2 separate regions of the Homo sapiens genome follow, and region 1 is linked to region 2. Evidence: promoter capture Hi-C in human tissues and cell types (Jung and others, 2019). All regions are on one chromosome and are shown on one strand. The core of a region is centred on a gene start or on the middle of the fragment in contact, and the rest is flanking DNA. Distances in the headings are between cores, read along the strand shown. Region 1 has its middle 170 kb from the start of CHD6. Region 2 holds the start of GTSF1L (gametocyte specific factor 1 like).

What was found. Contacts are between HindIII fragments. The study calls those that stand out against the background at their distance.
Region 1: a contact is called between a fragment that was not itself captured here and the fragment with the promoter of GTSF1L in region 2, in 1 of the 25 tissues and cell types used here (dorsolateral prefrontal cortex).

What each region holds. Positions count from the first base shown.
Region 1 is chr20:41,790,857-41,795,425 of GRCh38, reverse strand. No RefSeq gene overlaps it. Among named protein-coding and RNA genes, the nearest start is that of CHD6, 170 kb to the right of the region's middle. The HindIII fragment of the contact is 4,306 bases long and covers 1-4,017 here.
Region 2 is chr20:43,724,233-43,728,877 of GRCh38, reverse strand. GTSF1L (gametocyte specific factor 1 like) reads left to right here and starts at 1,876. Exons shown (of 1, transcript NM_176791.4): 1 at 1,876-2,714. The coding sequence starts at 2,184. The coding sequence ends at 2,630. The HindIII fragment of the contact is 17,400 bases long and covers 1-4,645 here.

The DNA of each region.
Region 1 (4,569 bases), core at 615-3,114, 1.9 Mb after region 2:
AAAGACTTTGTATTTTCCGGAGAAAGGGTTAGCATGTTTTCAGTTGCACACAGGACGGTTGTATCATGTTAGGCAGAAGCATAATCTTGTTATTGTCTCTATTTGGAGATTAAAATGACTTACAGAAATGTGAATGGGCACGAAGTTGACAAGGGTAGACTCATGATGGTTAATTTTATATGTTAACCTGGTTAGTCCACAGTACGCAGACGTTTGGTCAAACATCAGTCTGGATGTTACTGTGAAGGTATTTTTCAGATGAGATTTACATTTAAATCAGTAGACCTTGAGTAAAGCAGGTTACCTTCTGTAATGTAAGTGGGCCTCATCCAATCAGTTGAAGGCCTTAAGAAAAAACAGATTGTGGTACCCTGGGGAAGAAGAAATTCTGCCTCCAGACTGTCTTCAAACTCAAGCTGCCATATCAACTATTCCCTGGGTGCCAGGGTAGCCTGGAACCTGCCAGCCTACTCTATAGGTTTTGGGCTTGCCAGCTTCCACAATCATGTGAGTCAATTCCTTAAAATAAATTAGTTTTTAAAATACATCCACACAAACATATTATATTGATTCTGTTTCTCTGGAGAATCCTAATACACTGAGAGATGGCCATTAATCCTTGGCTGGATGCCCCAGGTTGGAAACACCACCTAAGATGCTCTTGCCTTTATTGAAAAATGCTTTGGTTAGAAAGTTCTTTTTCATGGCCAAAAAGGATCTGCTCCTTTAACCTCCACCCTCTACCAATCTCAGCCCTGCATCCTCCAGGTGATCACAAAAGCCCTACAAATCTCACCTTCACTGAAGCCTTCAAGAAACTGCCCCGTGGCTGCCCCAGTCCCATGGAAGAGAAGTCACTGGGAAAAAGTTGCCAAGCCTGTACCTAAATAATCTCCCTTTGGGGAAAGTTCCTTGAAAGGAAGGTAAGGTTGGGGAGAAGGAAGGAGGGAGGGAAGAAAAGAGAGATAGGAGAAAAAGAGGAAAGAAGGAAGAAAGGAAGATGGAAATGCTTCCAAATACCTGCTGTGTATTTTTCATGTAATCCACCAAACACTTTGAGTAGAGATTATTCCCCACCACAGCGAAGATTAGAAAGCAAAAGATCCACAAGGGAAGGTAAATTGGCAGTGGCCATCTTTGTGATACCTCCCTTCTCAAGAGGTCCTTCCCTCAGGCCAGGCGCGGTGGCTCAGGCCTGTAATCCCAGCACTTTGGGAGGCCAAGGCAGGTGGATCACGAGGTCAGGAGTTCAAGACCAGCCTGGCCAACATGGTGAAACCCCGTCTCTACTAAAAATACAAAAATTAGCGGGGCATGGTGGTACATGTCTATAATCCCAGCTACTCGGGAGGCTGAGGCAGGAGAATCACTTGAACCCAGGAGGCGGAGGTTGCAGTGAGCCAAGATCATGCCACTGCACTCTAGCCTGGGTGACAGTGCAAGACTCTGTCTCAAAAAAAAAAAAAAAAAAAAAAAATCCTCCCTCAAGGAAGTCACCAACAGAAGCTTCCAGTTAGCAGCCTAGAAGCTTAACTACTTAATCAGTGGGCTCAGGAAAGACCTGGGAATGGTTCTCATTGGTCTAGCTTAGGTCATATGCTCATTCCTGAACCAATCACTATGGCTAGAAGAATGAAATGTTTTGATTGGCTAGCCCAAGATCATGTGCCCTTGCCTGGTCCAGAGGGTGAGAGCCGCCTCAGTTAAATGGAAAGAGGCAGAGGGATGAGGCCCGCCCCCATTACAATGAAGGAGGTAATGAGTGCTGGAAAAGCAGAAAAAATAAACAATAACGGAATCATGGTCTGAATAAAAGGGATTTCAGCAACACAGTGAATGTCTCCATCCAGTTAAGCTCTATTTAAAAAGTTATATATATATATATATATATATATATATATATATATATACACACATATATATAAATACTCTATATTGAATTATTAAAGTATAATAGTAATTGTTAAGAATGACCCAGAAAGGGAAGGTCTTGGACAATGGTAAGTTTCAACCAGCACAAATTAGTTGTTAGCACCCACAGCTCTGATCTGAAGTGCCTAGCTAGCTCTGTTCTCTTCCCAAAGGGCATATATCCTCCTCCCCTATCCCAGAAGGAAGGTCTAGCCTTTGAGGCTCTTTCCTAGTTATCCTCCCCATGTATATAATCACCCTTTGCAAGTCATATTTTTGATTTCTCAGATGTTTCCAAGATGCTTTATTGGTTAAAGCTCATTGACATGACCTGTTCCTCCATGCTCAACACTGTCTCAGTTATGGCCTCCAGCACCCGCCTGGTTTTTCATGGAAGGTGTCAGTGTTGCACTTTTACAGCTCCAATGCACAGCCTGAAATACATTTTACAGAAACTTCAACCTCACCAAACACCAATTATTCATATCTCGTTACCATATATTTTTAAAGTAATGCACAACTTAGAACATTTAAAACCACGCAGTTCTTTGCATTATGAACACATCCTTACTAACTCACAACTATAAACAATTATACTTAATCTCAGTGTACCCTCTGGGGTTAAGTAGGAAACAACTTTATAATTCTAGATTTATTCTTAGGCTTAAAAAAAAAAACATTCTTGGCATATTTGAGCTCTGAGTTTAGTATTTCTGAACTTCAGGGCAGATTGACAACTAAAGCCCTTACAGAGACTTTTATTTAATCTTTCTTTTCACTAAAATCAGAAGCTTTGTGAATTCCTACCTAAGATGTAGACAAGAGAAGGCATTGGATACCTTCTGATTACTCTTTCTCAGCTTCCTTACCTCATATTTTCTTTGGACAAATTCAGAGAAGAGGAAACAAAGGAGAATAGACAGACTGTATTCATTCATTCATTCATTCATTCAACAGATTTTTTTTGAGTGGCCACTGTGTATGAGGCACTGCGACAGGTCCTGGGTATATGATAGTGAGCAGAAAAGATTCTATCCTTGTAAGGTTTATGGTCTAGTACAAGGATCAGCTGACTATAGCCTATAGGCCAAATCTGGCCTGCCACCAGTTTTTATATGACCCACAAGCTAAGAATGGGTTTTACACTGAAATTGTTGAAAAAAAATCAAAAGAATATTTTGTGACACGTGAAAAGTATGTAAAATTCAAATTTCAGTGTCCACAAATATAGTTTTATTAGAACACGGCCATGCCCATCAATTTACATATTGCCCATGGCTGCTTTCATACAGTAGCAGAGTTGACAGGTTGCAACACAGACCATATGGATCGCAAAGACCAAAATGTTTACTGCCTGGCCCTTTATAGAAAAGGTTTGCCACCCCTGGTCTAGCAGTAAATTGGAGAGGGGCTAGGAAGGAAATGGCTACCTCCTCATAGTGGAATAGAATCAGTATCCCAACCAACAGGTGGAGATGCAATCTACAGAATTTATTTTGCAGTAAGAGGTCTCAAGGTGCTCATCTTTCAGTCAAGGCTTTTGCTGGCTGCTGCTTCTCAGCTTTAACCTGTTTTAACAATAGAAAGTCACACCCTTCTTGTCCATTTGCTAATCAACTATTGACCTCCTCCTCCTCCACCAGCCAGCCAGATCCACTTTGTCCTTCCAGACCTAACTGAAGACCACTTATTTCTAGAGATATTTGATCAAGATCTTAGCAACTTGGAGTACTTTGAACAATTCCAGGGGACACCACTCAGTCCAGCCCACAGTGACCTCTTTCATCACCAAAAACCTATGACATTGGAAATGATGCCACTTAGCATTTAATTGCTAAGCGTTTCCTGCCTTATCTTCTTAAGAGAGTAAGTTCTGGCAACTGTGCCTTACCTATTAATATATCTTCCACAAAAGAGTGGACGCACAGTTTCCTGATTCATTAGTTATGTATATAAGAGTGATGTTGGGATAAGGACTCATCCTAGAGGTGGAAGAATTCAATCCATGCTCTAGTCTCACCATTTAATAACTGCAATATTCTCTCACCCTTTGTTTTCATAGCACTGAAATGGAAACAGTGGCTCCTATCTCACTGGCTTGTGTAAGAATTACTAAAAAACAATGGTTCTCAACCTGGAGGCTTTATCAAAACACAGATTGCTGGGCTCCATGCCCAGAGATTCTGATTCAGTTTTTCTAAGGTAAGGCCTAGGAATTTGCATTTGCTGACACTGCTTGGTCCAGAAGCCTCACTTTGAGAACCACTGCTTAATATAATGTAGCGAAGACACACAGAGGACACATTTTGATTCCCTTGGAAAGAAATGATCTTCATAATGATGACAGAGGTGATGATGACAGTGATGATGATGATAGTGGTAATGCTCACAATGTTCCTAGAGCCTAAATTTTATACCATATGCAAGTTTTTCTATCAAAGTAGTTTCAAATTCTTTCAGACATTGGGAAGATGGGATGCTTTCTGCATAACCACAAGAAAAAATTGATGCACTTAATTCTGTCACACGAGTCAGCAACAACTTTACTACCAGAAAATATGGCTATATTATATGCATGCAGGTTTCTGCATCTCAAAAAAGTAACAATACATAAAACACTCCTTTAAAAATCACATTTTAAAATTTCCCATTAATGTT
Region 2 (4,645 bases), core at 627-3,126:
TTATTGCAGCCTAACCTTGCCTATCCTGACTGGCACACCCAGAATAAATGGTGTAGTTATGAAAGATGCCTTTTTTTAGAATCCTTTGTCTAATCTTTTGTCTATACCTGGGTTCCCATTACAATTTCTTACTATGACATCAGTGAGTGTCATGTTGCTAAATTGTCTGCATGTCATATGATAGTAACAAGACATCCCACATGTATGATCAGTTGCAATTATGTAACAATGTAGACAAAGCCAATCACTTCAATTCTCAAAAAAGGCTGAACACCATAGCTAGGATGTGGAGAGATGGAAAAAGTGTCATTTACAATGACAAAAAAAAAAGAAAAAGAAAAAACCATAAAGCATCATAGATTAATTTTTTTTTAACGTGCAAAAAATAGAAAGAAAACTACAAAGCCTACCTGAAAAGACACCATCAATAGAGCTTAGTAAATACCAGGAAACACACACACACACATACACACACACACACTCACACACACACCTTCCCCAAGGTCACATGGCTGGTAAGTGGCAGGAGGTAGAATTTGAATACAGTCAGCTTCCTTAACCACCACCAAGAATAGGATGGGTGAGCTTTTTCTATAATGGGCCAGACAGAAAACATTAGAGGTTTCTAGGTCATCTGGATTCTGTTGCAACTACTCAAATCTAGCTCAAAAGCAGCCAATGGACAATATATAAACAAATGGGTGTGGCTGTGCTTCAATAAAACTTTATTTACAAAAGCAGATAGCCATCTGGATTTGAATCATGGGCCCATAGTTTGTTGACACATGATCTAGAATAACAAATCCTTGAAGATAGTCAAGGCTTTTGGGGGGAAAACTAATAACAAGCAGAGACTTGCTCTATCAGATATCAGCACATAAAGCTACAAAAATTATTTGGAATTGCATTATATTTATGTATCAATTTAGGATGACTATGTAATTTATGTAATTTAGTTTACAGAGAATATTCATTTATGATTTTGAGTCTTCCTATTCAGGAATATGGTATTTCTCTACTGTCACTCAGATCTTGAGAAACAATTTAACAGGGTGGGGGGTGGGAAGGAGCTCCAGGCCAATTTTTAGAAGAAATCCTACCTAACACCAGACATGTAAATAGAATGTCAGAGGACCAAAACCACTAACACCCTGAGATATGTGTCAATTGCGTCCATTCAGACTTTGGTCCAGTTCTGTGAGGGACAACGGCAGGGTCGACCTAAGATGGGGCGTTTTATAGGAAATGTTTCCCATGTTAAGCTGAACACCAAAAGGCTTCACCTTCTGCGATATATGAATAGATTTAAACCCTTCCCCCACACCCAAGGAGACTAGGCTGCTGTGGGCCTCAGCAGAGCAGAAGGGTAAAGAAAGACGGCCCTGAGAATCACATCCAAAAACCAGCCCTGGCAAAGCGCAGGGGCTCACACCTATCATCCCAGCACTTTGGGGGGCTGAGGCGGGTGGATCACCTGAGGTCAGGAGTTCAAGACCAGCCTGGCCAACATGGTGAAACCCGTCTCTACTAAAAATACAAAAAATTAGCCGGGCATGATGGCAGGTGCCTGTAATCCCAGCTACTCGGGAGCCTGAGGCAGGAGAATCACTTGAACCTGGGAGGCGGAGATTGCAGTGGGCCAAGATCGCACCACTGTACTCCAGCCTGGCAACAGAGCGAGACTCTGTCTCAAATAAAACAAAAACAAAAACAAAAAACAAATACGTACAGTTAAAAGACTTAAGTCACAACATACATCCATGAGCAATTTTAGATGGCAGCATTCCCAAAGCCATCCACCCCTCCCAAGCAGTGCACAATAGCCTCTTCCTGATGACTTAGGCTGCCCATTGTGACCACCGGTGACTGCAGCTTGACATCATAGTATATCCGTGAGTCAAGCGGCTGTGGGTTTTTGGCTCTTGCATCTGCTATAGTTCTGTCTCGGGTGCCATTTGCTAACTCTGTTCTCTGTGTAGCTGCTTTTGGCAGCTCCTCATCTCTCTTCTAATCCACCACTCACAGTCCTAGAGAACAGACCACAAGTTAAGACCGTCACCTACAGAATCCCAAGGGCCAAAACTGGGCAGAGGACAACTCCATCCTTCTTACAAAAGGGCTTCTCCACAAGAAGCATTTCCGTTAGACTCTAGCAGTGAGATACCCTGCTTCAAGAATTTCTCATGGAGCCAGAAGCCTTTGAAATTTGCCCTTATGATCCTCACCACCGAATCCCACTCAGCAGATTCCAGTACCACCTGGCATCGTGCAGGAGAAAGAACCCCAAGAAAGCCAAAAAGATGGCCACCTGCAAATACAACGCCTGCCACGTGGTCCCCATCAAAAATCTGGAGGAACATGAGGCTGTTTGTGTCAACAGGAGCGCTGTGGAAGAAGAGGACACCGAGAACCCTCTGAAAGTCAGTCCTCCTAGTTCAGAGCAGAACGATGACACCCAGCAGGTCTCACCCTGCCTTCCCAGCCCCGATATCTGGAATGTCGATGGCGCTAATTGCCAGCATGTGTTTGTCCTTAAGACTTTTTTTCCTCAAAAGGTTGTTTGTGAAAATGACACGAAAGAGTCAGCAAGAGAGACCAGTCCCCAGAAGATCCTCAGACCAGGACAGTAAACTGCCAGCTGAGGAAGGAGCACACGCCTCATCAATGCATGGAAGAACGTGCAATGCATCAGAATAAAAGACATGCAAAGTAAACTACCCTGGGCTACCTCTTTTTTTAACCTGGCAGATTGATAAATATCAAAAGGCTTAAAATACTCTGCTGGCAAAGGTAGGGCAAAATGGGCACTTTCATAACATTGGTGAGAATGTCAGTTGGTACAACCTCCACAGAGGGCAATTTGACAATAGCTATAAACATTATCAATGCATACAGGCTTTGATTGAGCAATTCCACTTCCAGGCTTCATTCTGTAAATATAATCACACATGTGGAAAATGAGCTAAGTACTAGCTTATTCACTGCAGCATTATTTGCAGCAGCAAAAGAGTTAGAAATGAGCCAGGTGTGTTGAATCACAGCTGTAGCCTGTTACTCTGGGAGCTGAGGCGAGAGGATCGCTTGAGTTCAGCCTGGGCAACATAGTGAGATCCTGTCTTAAGCAACAAAAAAAAAAGTCAAAAATGACCTAAATATCCATTAAAAGGGCCTGATTAAAAATAAGTTATACTGCAGCCATACAACAAAATATTATGCCGCCTTAAAAAAAGTGAGGAAGCTCTTTCTGTGCTGATATAGAAAGGTTGAGACACACTGTTGAGCTCAGAGGTCAGCAAACTGTTTCTGTAAAAGGCCAGATGGCAAATATCTTAGCCTTTGTCAGCCACACAGTCTGTGTTGCAACTACTCGGCCCTGCCACTGCAACACGAGAGCAGCCACATATAATATGTAAACAAATGAACAGAGGTTCCAATAAAATGCCTTACAGCCACAGGTGGCAGGCTGGACTTGACTGGTGGGCCATGGTTTGCCAACCCCCAGTTTAACTGATAAAAACCAAGTCCAGGCCGGGCCCGGTGGCTCATGCCTGTAATCCCAGCACTTTGGGAGCCGGAGGCGGGCCAATCACCTGAGGTGTGGAGTTCGAGGCCAGCCTGGCCAACATGGCAAAACCCCATCTCTACTAAAAATACAAAATTTAGCCGGGCGTGTGGTGGGCACCTGTAATCCCAGCTACTCAAGAGGCTGAGGCAGGAGAATAGCTTGAACCCGGGAGCAGAGGCTGCAGTTAGCCGAGATCACGCCATTGCAATCCAGCCTGGGTGACAGAGCGAGACTTTGTCTCAAAAAAAAAAAAGGAAAAAGAAAAGAAAAAACAAAAACAAGTCCAGAGCAGTCTATACAGTATGCCACCATTTGGGGAGAGTTGCGGGAGAAGACATGAATATGTATGTGCTTGTTTTTGCATAAAATTTCTCTTTAAGGATACTCTAGAATGGAGATCTGTCCACAAAGCCTGAAATTTTTCAACCTGTTGCCTAATAGAAAAATTTGCTTGCCTCTTCACTAGAAACTGATATTGTCTGCCTCCAGGGAAGACAAGAGAGAGCCCTTCTTTACTATTGACTCTTTAGAATCTTTTACATGGGAATATATATGAATATGTTATCTGGTCAAAAATTAAACTATATTTTTTTAAACAGCAGGTAGAAGACTTAAGTCCTTTGAAAGTTTTTCAGGAGGAAATCTTAACTGTTAAGTTTTTTTTTTGTTTTTTTGTTGAGACAGAGTCCTCGCTCTGTCGCCCAGGCTGGTGTGCAGTGGCGCAATCATAGCTCACTGTAGCCTCAACCTCTAAGGCTCAAGCAATCCTCTCGTCAAAGCCTAACAACTAGCTGGGACCACAGGCGTGCACCACCATAACTGGCTAGTTCTATTTTTTTGTAGAGATGGGGTCTCACTATGTTGCCTAGGCTCACTGCTTTTTTTTTTTTTTTTTAAGTAATCATAACTTTGCCACCCAGCTGGCCCCTTCAACTGCTTACACGAAGTATTATAAACAAAGACTTCTTGGGGGGATAAAAAGTTCTGGATGGCAGTGATTAATGAAGTGCATGAACTAGAGAACTGACATACAGGAAATAGGGGGAAAAAGTGATGTGGAGAATATATGTCTATAAACCA